Linked DNA regions of Homo sapiens: regions 1 and 3 are each linked to region 2. Evidence: promoter capture Hi-C in 16 types of primary human blood cells and fetal thymus (Javierre and others, 2016). All regions are on one chromosome and are shown on one strand. Each heading gives the region's core, a stretch centred on a gene start or on the middle of the fragment in contact. The rest is flanking DNA. Distances are from core to core; before and after follow the strand shown. Region 1 has its middle 9.9 kb from the start of MAP4K5. Region 2 holds the start of DNAAF2 (dynein axonemal assembly factor 2). Region 3 overlaps L2HGDH (L-2-hydroxyglutarate dehydrogenase).

Region 1 (4,365 bases), core at 134-2,633, 910 kb after region 2:
ATTAATCCCTGAGTCTCTAGGAATGAATAAAACCATCAGCGTACTTAAGTGCCATTTGACATATGTAGGTGGAAAAATCCTGGGACTGATTGGTAGAAACCTAACTGAAATCTCTGTAACAGAGATTCAAGACATATTACCTGAATCTTAGACATAAACCAATTCACAAACCTGGAGTCCCTTAATTAAGGGTGAGGGCGGATGTCTTTGAGGGAGAGTCCCATAGTGCAGCCAGGTATAAACGGTGACTTTTCCCCAAGGCCATTTCCAGAGGTACTTGTAGCCTTTTACCAGGGTGATTGTGAGCTAAGGAATGGGTGATTCTCATACATTCTGGAGGTTAATTGATATTAGCTCTAAATAATAATCTCTGCAGTCTCAAAATACCGCCAAAATTCCAGTGATTAAAGTAGAGATTTAAGAAAGTCAAGTGGGACTAAAGATCCACTCTGGAGTTATTTTTCCAGTCCCAAAATATATGTGAGTATAGATATATTGAGTAGCAGAATTCCTACATTAGGTTTCTAGGGAGCTATTATGATAGGTAGGAACAAGTGTAACCTCCCTAGCTAACTTCTTACCCATGCCAAAGTAGAATACCAAGATTAAATTTGATCTCCAGGGAAATTACAGAGATTAGTGCCACCATTAAAGATATGAAAGATACAAGTCTTTTCCTTTTAACTCCTCTTGGCTTGTGCAATAGCCAAATTAGTTTTGGAGAATGTGGATTATTAAAAATTTAATCAAATGTTGATGCTAGTCATAGTTGTGGTTCCACATATGGGGGATCTTTACTAGAGCAAATCAGAACAGCTCTTGGCACCTAGAAGGTAGCTATTGACTTGAAAACTAGAAAGTAGCTTTCTTTTCAATTCCCGTCAGCAAAAATAATCAGAAGCAGTTTGCTTTCACATGATTGCAACAGCACTGTCATTGTACTACCTCAGGGATATTTAAAGACTTCTGTTCTATGATAGAGTATCATTCCAGAGGGACCTTTGTTTCCTTGATATCCAGTAGAATATCATGGTAGTCTTTTATCTTGATAACATTATGCAAATTGCACCTTGTGAGCAGGAAGTAGCAACCACCCTACATACTTTAAAAAATACCACTAATACCAGAGAACGAGAGATAAACCCAGTTCAGGAACCTGACACATTAGTGACATTTCTAACAAGGAAGTAGTGCTCTACCTTGTATCATCCACCTTAAAGATGCACAGTGTTTGTTTGGCCTGTTTGTATTTTGAGACAATGTACTGCATTTGCTACTCTTTGACCCATGTAACCTGTATGACTGCCACCTTGTTCATATCACTTGGAACTACATAATGTACTACAGAGAAGGCTATGATGCAAGCTGCCCTGACACTTAGGCTTTAGGATTCAGCAGACCCAATGGTAAACAGGAAACTGTATGGAGTCTCTTGCAACCCCAGTAGGAGAATCCCAATGCAGACCCCTAGGATTTTGGTATAAGAATATGCTGTTGGCCAGGCGCGGTGGCTCACGCCTGTAATCCCAGCATTTAGGGAGGCCGAGGCAGGAGGATCACGAGGTCAGGAGATTGAGATCACGGTGAAACCCCATCTCTCTAAAAATACAAAAAATTAGCTGGGTGCGGTGGCGAGTGCCTGTAGTCCCAGCTACTTGGGAAGCTGAGGCAGGAGAATGGCATGAACCCAGGAGGCAGAGCTTGTAGTGAGCCGAGATCGCGCCACTGCACTCCAGCCTGGGCGACAGAGCGAGATTCCGTCTCAAAAAAAAAAAAAAAAAAAAAAAAAAAAAAAAAAAAAAAAAAGAATATGCTGTTATCTGCTGACAGCTATTGTCTGTTTGAAAGGCAACTCTTGATTTACTTCTAGGTCTTAGTAGAGGCTAGACTCCTGACCACAGGATACTAAGTAACTATGTGACATTAACTGCTCTTTAGAAATTGGGAGTTACCCTGCATGTTCTCACTCATAAGTGAGAGTTGAACAATGAGAACACGTGGACACAGGGAGGGGAACATCACACACCGGGGGCCTGTGGTGTCGGGGGGAGGGGGTTGGGGGCAAGGGGAGAGAGAGCACTAGGACAAATACCTAATGCATACGGGACTTAAAACCTAAATGACAGGTTGATAGGTGCAGCAAACTACCATGGCATATGTATACCTGTGTAACAAACCTGCACATTCTGTACAGGTATCCCAGAACTTAAAGTAAAATTAAAAAAATAAAAGAAAATAAAAGAAATTGGATGTTACCTAATTTACTGGATCGTAAGTTGAACATGGGCAGCAGAATTCCGTTGTCAAATGGAAGAGTATACACTGAGGTGGCCTGAGATGATCTGGAAGACACAAGTAAATCATATGGAACAAATGTCCATTGGACCTGCCCTTACTTCTTTGCCACCTGTTTTTTTTTCAACCCATTATCTATAGGCTCATAGCCATTTAGCAGGGGAAGAAAAAGTTTAGGCTTGGTTTATTAATGGTCTGCATAATATGCTAGCACCAACTTGAAGCAGAGAGCCACAGAATTCTGTGCCCACACCATAATGGGGTGGCCCTGAAAGATAGGAGGAGAAATTCTCCCAGTGGATATAACTTTGAACAATACATCTGGTTGTCCTCTTTTTTAGGAAGAAGAGCTGATCTGAGGTATGGATCTGTACTGATTCATGCACAGTAGCTAATAGGTTGGTCAATTACTTGGAAGGAAGAAGATTTGAGATAAGGAAGTCAGTGGGAGAAGTATTATGGATGGATTCTTAAAATTGCCCAGAATGTGAAAATAACTGTGAACTACAATACTGCCCAGCAGAGGGCATCCATCTCGATAGTTATACAAGAAGATCTGTTCTCCAGGTGTCAATCAGCCTCTTTACACAGTCACTCTAGTGCTTGCTCAGTGTGCCTACGTGACAATAGGAATGTAAGCTAACATTAGATTCAACAATGTAGACTTCTACTTGCCAAGGATAATTCAGTTACTGCCACTATGGAGTGATTAATCTGCTTATAGCAGAGGCCATTGCAGAGATCCCAGTATGATACTGTTCCCTTGACAGATAAGTCAACCATCTGGTGGCAGTTTAATTTCACTAGATTCCTTTCATTATAGAGGGAAGAGTGACCTGTCATCATGGGAATAGATACATATTCTAGGTAGAGGTTTACCTTCCCTGCTTGGAAAGCTTCTATTAGTGCCACAATTCATGGGCTTATGGAATGCCTTGTTTTATCACCATGTATCACAAATATCTTTGAGCAAGAAAGTAATTTTATTATGAGAGAAGTGTGGCAGCAGAGTCATGCCCATGGAATTAACTGATCTTACCCATCACTCAGGAACAGCTAGTTTGATAGGATAGAGGAAAGTATGCAGAAGGATCAATCGTGGTGCTGGCTGAGAGAAAACCCCTGTAAGGATGTAGTATAGGACTCAACCCAGTCACCATTATATGTTGTCATCTACTCAATATTCAGAATGCATGGGCCTGTGAACCAAGAGGCAGAGGTAGGAGTGGCTCTTCTATTATTCCTAATAACTCTCTTGAAAGTTTTTTTCTCTACAACTTTGTCTCTATTATATTGTCCCTATAGGATTGGACTTGGTGAGTTTGGAGGCCCTAGTGCCCAAGGGATTGATACTTTCCCCAGATGACATGGTCACAATTCTATTTAACGGGAAGCTGAAACTGCCATCTGGCTATTTTGGAGTCTTCAGATCACTAAATCAACAGTTAGAGAAGGGGGTCATTGTACTGGTTGGGGTGATTGATTCTAACTACCATGGGGAAATTGGTTATTGCTCCGCAAAGGAAACAAGGAAGACTATGTCTGGAATCCCAGGTATTCACTAGGGTGTCTCTTAGTATTCACATCTCTAATATTACTGGACAGTGGGAAACTGAAGCAACCCAATGAAGATGAGAGCACTAAGGACTTGGATCCTCTGAGACTAAGGTTGGGTGACCCCACCAGATGAGGTATGAGTTAAGGGTTATGGGAAAGTGGAAGCCATGATGATCACTTTGGCCCTTGGGCCCAATAACTACCCTCTTTTCTCTGTCCTTACTATCAGAACCACAATTTTGTTGACCTCTTCCAAGTGGCTATGTCCATCAGGGGAGACTGAGACACTCCCCCGTCTTAGGGAATAAATCTTGATTGGTCTAGCCTCATTTTTCTTATTAAAGGAATGGTTTAGGCTTGGACAATTCTGGACAATGACACAGGAGGAAAAGTCTGCTGGAGTGCTTCTAGGAAGGTTTTCCTTGCTATTAACAGGGTACACAAGACACAGACATGACTTATTCTGTCTCTAGGCATGGATGTCTGCTTCTGATGTGACTAGAATGGCAACTG
Region 2 (4,313 bases), core at 29-2,528:
GCGCGACTCCTCGCGGGTCCCGCCTCCCCCTCGCGAGCGGAAGCGCAGGCCTGGCCGTCAGTTCCGGACCGGTCCGCGGACTCTTCCGGCGCGGCGGCGGCGACGGCGACAGCGGGCTCCCGGCGCGCGGCCGGCAGCACCACTGGCAGCGTAACCACCAGCTGCCGCCGGGCCTTGTTGAATTGTGCCTTGCCGCGGCCATCGTCCACTGGGTACGGGAGCGAGAGCCGCAGCCGGTAGTCAGGTTTCCTCGAGTCGAGGCACAGCAGCTTTCTCGTTACCTCCAGCGCCGCCTGCTCGGCCGAGCGCAACAGCGGCAGTTCGATGGTGATCACCAGCTCATGGGGCACGGGGCTCGGGGCTGAGTCCCTGGAGCAGCGGTAATCCTGGAGGTCCACGTGGTGGCGCTGCACCACGCTGTAGCGAGGCTCGGTGGGGGCGGGCTGCAAGGCCGCTTCCGGAGGGGAGGGCGCCCGGGGCCCGGGGGCTGCCGGGTACTGGTAAGGGTAGGGGAAGTCCGGGAGAGGACCCTTCGGCTCCCCGTCAGGCCTTGCGGGGATGACCCCGGGCAGGGGCGTGCGCAGCACCGCAGCCTCTGGGGTCCCCTTATACTTGGCCTTCAGGGTCTTGGCATTCCTGCGGTCCAGCTTCACGCCGAACTGCTTCTCGACGGCCTCCAGGGCCGTGGCGTCCAGCATCTGGCGGAAGCCCTCGTGCCGCCGGGCCAGCGCAAGCGCGTCTGGATGGAAGACCACGTCGTAGACCATGTAGCGGCTGCTGCTGCGCCCCGCGTACTCGCGGCCGGGCGCCAGGCTGTAGGGCAGGGACCAGTGGCTGCCAGGAGCTGCGCCCCGGTCGCCACCGGAGCCGGGCCGGCTGCTGGGCGCGCCCACCAACGCGTTGCTGCAGACATTCACAAAGCAGCGCCGCGCCCCGTCCAGGCTGGTGCGCAGCACATGGCCGGGCTCCGGGTGCACGAACCGCACTTCCACCCCGCGCTCACGCTCTAGCGCGGTGATCTCCGCCTCGTAGCGCCGCCGGTTCTCCGGGTCGGTGAGCTCCTCGGCGTACTGGGAGAACATTCGCCGGAACTCCGGGTCCTGGAAGGCGGAGGTGAGCCGCTGGACCTCCTCTCCGCTCAGGTCCAAGTCCTCCAGCGACGAGGAGGCCGCCGCTTTGGCCATACTGTCCTGTGGCTCCTCGCCCTCGGGCCAAAGGCGATCAGTCTGACACTGGGTTGGGGGATCCGCCTCAGAGTTTCTGGGCAGCGTACAGTGACGCGGTGGAGGTCGGTAACGGCTGGAAAATTGAGCCTTGAGCAGCGCGTGCTTGTTGTCATAGTTACACCACTAACATTCGGGAGGAGGGGTAGAGATCATGGTGGAATAGGCCGGGCGCGGTGGCTCAGGCCTGTAATCCCAGCACTTTGGGAAGCCTAGGCGGGCGGATCACGAGGTCAGGAGATCGAGACCATCCTGGCTAACACGGTGAAACCCCGTCTCTACTAAAAATACAAAAAATTAGCCGGGCATGGTGGCGGGTGCCTGTAGTCCCAGCTACTCGGAAGGCTGAGGCAGTAGAATGGGGTGAAACCCAGGAGGCAGAGCTCTTGCGGTGAGCCAAGATCGCGCCACTGCACTCCGGCCTGGGCGACAGAGCAAGTCTCTCAAGGAAATCATGGTGGAATAGTGGAAATGCCAGAAATAGCCCTCTTAGATTCTTCAAACCAACCCACCACCGTACTTTGTTTTGTTTTGTTTTGTTTTTCTTTTTTTGAGACAGAGTCTCGCTCTGTCACCCAGGCTGGAGTGCAGTGGCGCAGTTTCGGCTCACTGCAAGCTCCACCTCCCAGGTTCACGCCACTCTCCTGCCTCAGCCTCCCGAGCAGCTGGGACTACAGGCGCCTGCCACTACGCCCAGCTAATGTTTTGTATTTTTACTAGAGACAGGGTTTCACCGTGTTAGCCAGGATGGTCTCGATCTCCTGACTTCGTGATCCGCCCGCCTCGGCCTCCCAGAGTGCTGGGATTATAGGATTACAGGCATGAGCCACCACACCAGGTCCAAAACCTTTTTTTTTTTTTTTTTTTTTTTGAGGCTGTCTCACTCTGTCACCCAGGCTGGAGTGCAGTGGTGCAGTCTTGGCTCACTGCAACCTCCGCCTCCCGGGTTCAGGCAATTCTCCCTGCCTCAGCCTCCCAGGTAGCTGGGATTACAGTGACTCACCACCACGTCCGGCTAAGTTTTGTATTTTTAGTAGGGATGGGATTTCACCATGTTGGCCAGGCTGGTCTCCCACTCTTGACCTCATGTGATCTGCCCACCTCAGCCTCCCAAAGTGCTGGGATTACAGGCATGAGCCACCGCGCCCGGCCTAAAACCTTTCTAATGTGCATATTTTTTTGACCCAAATGCCCTTAGAGTATTTGACACAATACTCTTAGAACATTCTCAAGGTGACATCATTTATGATTCTAAAGGTTTGAGAAGAATCTACAAATTCAACAATGGAACTGATTGAGCAGGTTTTGGTAGAGCCACGCAACAGAGTTTTGTGCAACCATTCAAAATGATCATATGGAAGTATATTTATTTACTGGAGTAATTATTTATTCATTGGTAATTGGTCAATTCAGTGATCATTTTTCTATTCTCAGCAACATTTAACACAGTTGATGTTGGCATTACCTCAGTGACAAGACACTTTCCAGATTTCTCTTCTGTCTCATCACTCTCATAGTTTTGCTCTGTAGGTATCTACTTCTTTTCAACTTCTACATGGAAATGCCCCAAAACTGGGACCCAATCTCTTACCCATCTATACTCTCCTTCAGAAATATATTTACACTCACAAATACTTGTCTTAGACTCAGATTTTACACTCCTATATCCAGCTGCACGTTTGAGGTGTCCATTTGAGTGATTAATGCATAAGCTACTCAGGCTTGAAATGACCAAGATCAGAACTCCTGAATCCTCTTTTCCCAAACCACTGCCTTATCTTATGGTCTCTTGGAAGCATTCAAAGCAGTTGACTGCCCCTTCGAAACACATTTTTCTCATGTTTTGCAGAACTCCAAGCTCTCCCATTTTCCTCCTTTATGCTCCTGCCAGTTCTGCAAATGTGGGAGTTGCCCAAGGCTTTGTTCATCAGCCCTCTTACCTAATCACATTTCTTCCAAGATGTCTTATCCAAGCCCATAGTTTTAAATGCCATCTGTGTTCAAATTAGTCCTTTCAACAGATATTTATTGTGTGCTTATTGCACTTATTATATAGGTAATTAACAAAGATGTGAAGCAGTTGCATTGCTTTTTTTTTTGAGACAGAGTCTTGCTCTGTCGCCTAGACTGGGGTGCTTTGGCGCGATCTTGGCTCACTGCAACCTCCGCCTCCTGGGTTCAAACAATTCTCCTGCCTCAGCCTCCCAAGTAGCTGGGATTGCAGGCACCTACCACTGCGCCCAGCTAATTTTTGTATTTTTTAGTAGAGATGGGATTTCACCATGTTGGTCAGGCTGGTCTCCAACTCCTGAGCTCAGGTGATCCGCCCACCTCGGCTTCCCAAAGTGCTGGGATTACAGGCACAAGCCACCATGCCCAGCCAGCAATTGCACTTTCATATCCTGGGAGTATATATTGGAACACTGTTAACATAAGGCTTACGACAATGAAATTCTCCCAGATACACATTCAACAGAAACACATATCCCCACCAAAACACATGTACTACAATGTGTGTATTCATAGCGGCACTATTTCATAGTTGACAAATTCTGGAAGCAACCCAAATTCTCATTCATAGTAGAATGGATAAATGTAAATATCCACCCACACAATGCACTACTCAACAGTATAGATGAGTATCATTAACATAATGGTGCTTGAAAGAAACCAGATGTAAAATAATACATATGACTCTGTCATATAATAGACAAAACATGGCAAAATAAATCTGTTAAGCCAAGCTAGTGATGGCCATGTTGGGAGAGCTTCTGGGTGAGGGTCTGTTAATCTTGGTTACATTGGGTGTGCAATTTGTGAAATTCATTGTGCTGTACGCTGACAGTAGATTTTATGTATCTTATACTTTTAGAGTTAAAAAATGTACTTTTTTTTTTTTGAGACAGAGTCTCCCTTTGTTATCTAGGCTGCAGTGCAGTGGCACAATCTCAGCTCATTGCAACCTCCGCCTCCCAGGTTCAAGCAGTTCTCCTGCCTCAACCTCCCGAGTAGCTGGGATTACAGATGCCCACCACCACGCCCGGCTAATTTTTCTATTTTTAGTAGAGACGGGGTTTCGCCACGTTGGCC
Region 3 (4,300 bases), core at 821-3,320, 640 kb after region 2:
GAGAGTTAGTTAGCATGTCTTCAGTCCTATGAAGGACAGTTACACCTTGTTAGGTGGAAGCATACTTTTACTTCTGTCTTTATTTGGAAGCTAAATATCGTTATAAGGTTATAAGGGGCGTGGACAGATGTCAGGTTGACAAAGGGTGGACTGTAGGGGTTTGTACTGAGTCCATTTGGTTAAGCTAGGAACTATGCTTGACAGAATCCCCTTCTCTTCATGGTTCCAACTTAAACTTGGTCAAAACAGGAGATGCATATAATCTGGTGGCAGAGGGCCAGGCGTGGTAGCTCACACCTGTAATCCCAGCACTTTGGGAGGCCGAGGCGGGTGGATCATGAGGTCAGGAGATCGAGACCATCCTGGTTAACATGGTGAAACCCCGTCTCTACTAAAAATACAAAAAAATTAGCCAGGTGTGGTGGCGGGCGCCTGTCCCAGCTACTCGGGAGGCTGAGGCAGGAGAATGGTGTGCACCCGAGAGGCGGAGCTTGCAGTGAGCCAAGACTGCACCAATGGACTCCAGCCTGGGCGACACAGTGAGACTCCGTCTCAAAATAATAATAATAATAATAATAATAATAATAATAATAATAATAATAATAATAATCTGGTGGCAGAAGTAAATCAGCAGGTATTATTCTCTGAAGGTCATCCTAGTCCAATGAGGTGACAGACAGATACCCACTGTCCAGTGAATTCCAGCTCCGCATTCAGCTCTGTTTCCCAATTACTGATCCATCAACTCTCTTCTGAATCTATGCTTTCCCAGAAACTTCCACAATTGTGTAAGGTCTTATTCCTATAATAAATCCTATAGCACTCATTAATGACTCTGCTCCCTTGAGTACAACTTGATGCAGCGAACCTACAGGGAATCCACTGCTTCTATGCCATTCAGTGGTTCTTGCTTTAGGTCCATGTGAAGATGAATAAAAGCAGTCCATCTCCCTCTGGACAACCTGCATACTCCCTCTTCCGAAGTCTTCTGATTTATAGAGAGTTAATAAGTTAGTGGAGATCAGTAGATAGAGTGATAAAATATTAGTTTTGCCTTAAAATTAAACACTCCATATGCTTATAATCCTGTTCTTTGCCAGCAGAGCCACTTAATTAGGACATTCCCAAGTTGAAACCCTCCTTAGAATAAAAGCTGTTAAACTTCCCTAAAAGAAATTCTCTCAGAATTACATTAGACAAATGTCATTCAATAACTTAAAATACAGCCCTGTGGGTTAATTTAATTTTTAATAAAGGGGAGGGAAAGAAAGTAGCCAGCAGTTTTGCTTAAGAATCTTTACCTTTGTATTCTTTATAACAATTGGATATTGCATTCCTGAAAAAAAAGAATAAGTGAAAAATTTATTTTTAGCAAAAGGCCAACATTATTTGAAATATCATACTAGAAACAAACTTAAATAACCTTTTTCTGTCATTACTATGATTGCACCTTACAGTTCATTCTGAAACTTTTTACCAAATAACAATTAAACTAGTTCATACTTAACAACATATAAAACTCCAGCATGTTTTTAGCTTGATTTTAATTCACCTAATCTATGCTTATAAACCATATGCCACCTGACCTCCAATATAGACATAGCTATTCTCTGAACTATAATCCTGGAAACCGCAATGTAAAATGGATAATCATAAATCAGTATGTATTTTCCCACAGACTAAAGCTATGATATGAGAAACCTTGTCATCCAAGTGTTGGTTACTGGATTCCTTGCAGGTTCTATGTTGTTTAGAAAAGCAAGAGTTCTCACAACACAAAAACTTCTAATAAAAAATTGACCATTTTTAAAATTAGTTCCCACTCAGATACATGGGATCTCAAAGTTTTATAAAGCGTATGTAGAGCAGATAAATACAATCTACTTGTATCACAAATTTGGTTTATTATGCTACCTACCTAAAACAACCTTAATTATTTAACAATTTTGCTCATCATCTTAGAATTCAGAAAGACAGAATGATTCAGATGGCTTAGATCTCCTTAAAAACCTGTCAAGGAAGAAAGAACAGAACACTACTTTTTTTCTCCTTCAAATTTCTCAACAGCAAATAGAAGGCTCACAAATCTATCATTTGGACAAAAAAAATTAATGCCCTCAAAGCAAAACAAAACAAACTCTAAGTGAACTCTTAAACTGTGGGGGCTGGGCATGAGGTGGGGGGAGTTCCAAATGGCCAGGTCATTTTATGACCTTAGGCTGTCATTCTGACATTCTAAAACTTGGATGTGTCTAAGAATCACTAAAGGCTTATTACTAGGTGCTATTTCCAGACAGTCTGATTCAGTAAGTATGGGTGATGCTAACATTTGCATTTTGGGCCAAGCACAGTGGCTCATGCCTGTAATCCCAGCATTTTGGGAGGCCAAGGTGGGCAGGTTGTTTGAGCTTAGGGGTTCAAGACAAGCATGGACAACATAGTGAGACCTCAACTCTTTTTATTATTTAAAAAAAAAAAAAGAAGGAAGAAAGTAAAGAGGAAAAAGCATATTTAAAAAGATTGCTTCGATCCCTTTCATGGTTCTTGAAACATACAAGCAGGCTGAGCATGGTGGCTTACGCCTGTAACCCCAGAACTTTGGGAGGCCGAAGTGGGTGGATCACCTGAGGTCAGGAGTTTGAGACCAGCCTGACCAACATGATGAAATCCCATCTCTACCAAAAATACAAAATTAGCTGGGCATGGTGGTGCATGCCTGTAATCCCAGCTACTCAGGAGGCTGAGGCAGGGGAATTGCTTGAACCTGAGAGGCAGAGATTGGAGTGAGCCAAGATCGTGCCATTGCACTCCAGCCTGGGCAATAGGGTGAGACTCCGTCTCAAAAGAAAAAAAAAAAAAAAAGAAATATACAAGCAAAAGAGTTCTTTTGAAATTACTCCTTCGTGACCCTGACACCTCTCTAAGACTGAGCCACATGGGTCACTGCTTTTTTTTTTTTTTGAGACAGAGTCTCACTCTGTTGCCCAGGCTGGAGTGCAGTGCGCTGGTGCAATATCAGCTCACTACAGCCTCTGCCCACCGGATTCCAGCAATTCTCCTGCCTCAGCCTCCTGAGTAGCTGGGATTACAGGCACGTATCACCACACCCGGCTAATTTTTGTATTTTTAGTGGAGATGGGTTTTACCATGTTGGCCAAGCTGGTCTGGAACTCCTGACCTCAGGTGATCCGCCTGCCTTGGCTTCCCAAAGTGTGGGATTACAGGCGTGAGCCAACGCGCCTCCCAGGTCACTGCTTTATATAGACATATTTACAGCTATCAATAAAAAGGATCAGTTCAGTCCTGTACTCTTCACATAGACACCAGGTTTGCCAATTTTCCTACTGACTACGTTTGCCATTTAGAGATACAGAACCTGAATAGTTATACCGGTAAGCTGTACATCTGAGTCCCATAGGATTTTGCAAATTAAGAAAAAATTATTTTATTTAATTAAAAAAAAATTTTTATGTTTAGTAAAGATGGGGTCTCGCGATGTTGCCCAGGCTGGTCTTGAACTCCTGAGCTCAAGCGCTCCACCCACCTTGGCCTCCCAAAGTGCTCGGATTACAGGCGCGAGCCACTGCGCCCAGCCCTAAAAAAAAAATTTTTTTGAGACAAGGTCTCACTGTGTCGGCCTGGCTGCAGTGCAGTGATGCAATTATAGCTCACTGCAGCCTCAAACTCCTGTGCTCAAGCAATCCTCCTGCCTCAGCCTCCTAAGTAGCTGGAAGTACAGGTGTGTGCTACCATGCCCAGTGAACGTTTAAAAATTTTTTGTAGAGGCAGGGTCTCGCTATGTTGCCCAGGCTGGTCTTAAACTCCTGGCCTCAAGTGATCCTCCTTCCTTGGCCTCTCAAAGTACTTGTGCAAATTTTAACTTCACAATTAGATTTGCTGTCCAGACTTCTAAGGGAGAGAAAAAGGAAAAAAAAAATTCTCCAGAATGGTATGTGTTCCTTAGGAGTGGTAAAGTCTAGCACACTGGAAGACTAATTTACATGTTGATATATATAGACAAGCCAAAAAGGAGATGTCATGTCATGAAAATTTTTTTCTCTCCTTTCCAGCAGTATAATAAATTGTCATTCAAGCTGGGTGCAGTAGCTCGCTCCTGTAATCCCAGCACTTTGGGAGGCTGAGGCAGGAAGATCACCTGAGGTTAAGCGTTTAAGACCAGCCTGGCCAACACGGTGAAACCACGTCTCTACTAAAAATACAAAATTAGCCAGATGGGGTGGCACATGTTTGTAATCCCAGTTACTTGGGAGGCTGAGGCAGGAGAATCACCTAAACCCAG

What was found. The method cuts DNA at HindIII sites, captures the fragments that hold promoters and counts their contacts. A CHiCAGO score of 5 or more calls a contact.
Region 1: a contact is called between a fragment that was not itself captured here and the fragment with the promoter of DNAAF2 in region 2, in 1 of 17 cell types (non-activated CD4 T cells). The highest score is 5.8, in non-activated CD4 T cells.
Region 3: a fragment that was not itself captured here is called in contact with the fragment with the promoter of DNAAF2 in region 2 in 1 of 17 cell types (naive CD4 T cells); the score reaches 5.4 in naive CD4 T cells.

The regions. Positions count from the first base shown.
Region 1 is chr14:50,540,243-50,544,607 of GRCh38, forward strand. It overlaps a transcript of MAP4K5 not described here and a transcript of ATL1 not described here. Among named protein-coding and RNA genes, the nearest start is that of MAP4K5, 9.9 kb to the left of the region's middle. The HindIII fragment of the contact is 3,612 bases long and covers 1-3,189 here.
Region 2 is chr14:49,633,966-49,638,278 of GRCh38, forward strand. It overlaps DNAAF2 (dynein axonemal assembly factor 2), which reads right to left and starts at 1,279. Exons shown (of 3, transcript NM_018139.3): 1 at 1-1,279. The coding sequence starts at 1,184. RefSeq lists silencers at 1-110, 381-620, 851-900 and enhancers at 111-350, 163-923. The HindIII fragment of the contact is 6,803 bases long and covers 1-4,313 here.
Region 3 is chr14:50,277,219-50,281,518 of GRCh38, forward strand. L2HGDH (L-2-hydroxyglutarate dehydrogenase) reads right to left here. Exons shown (of 10, transcript NM_024884.3): 6 at 1,302-1,336. Among named protein-coding and RNA genes, the nearest start is that of MIR4504, 21 kb to the right of the region's middle. The HindIII fragment of the contact is 6,330 bases long and covers 1-4,300 here.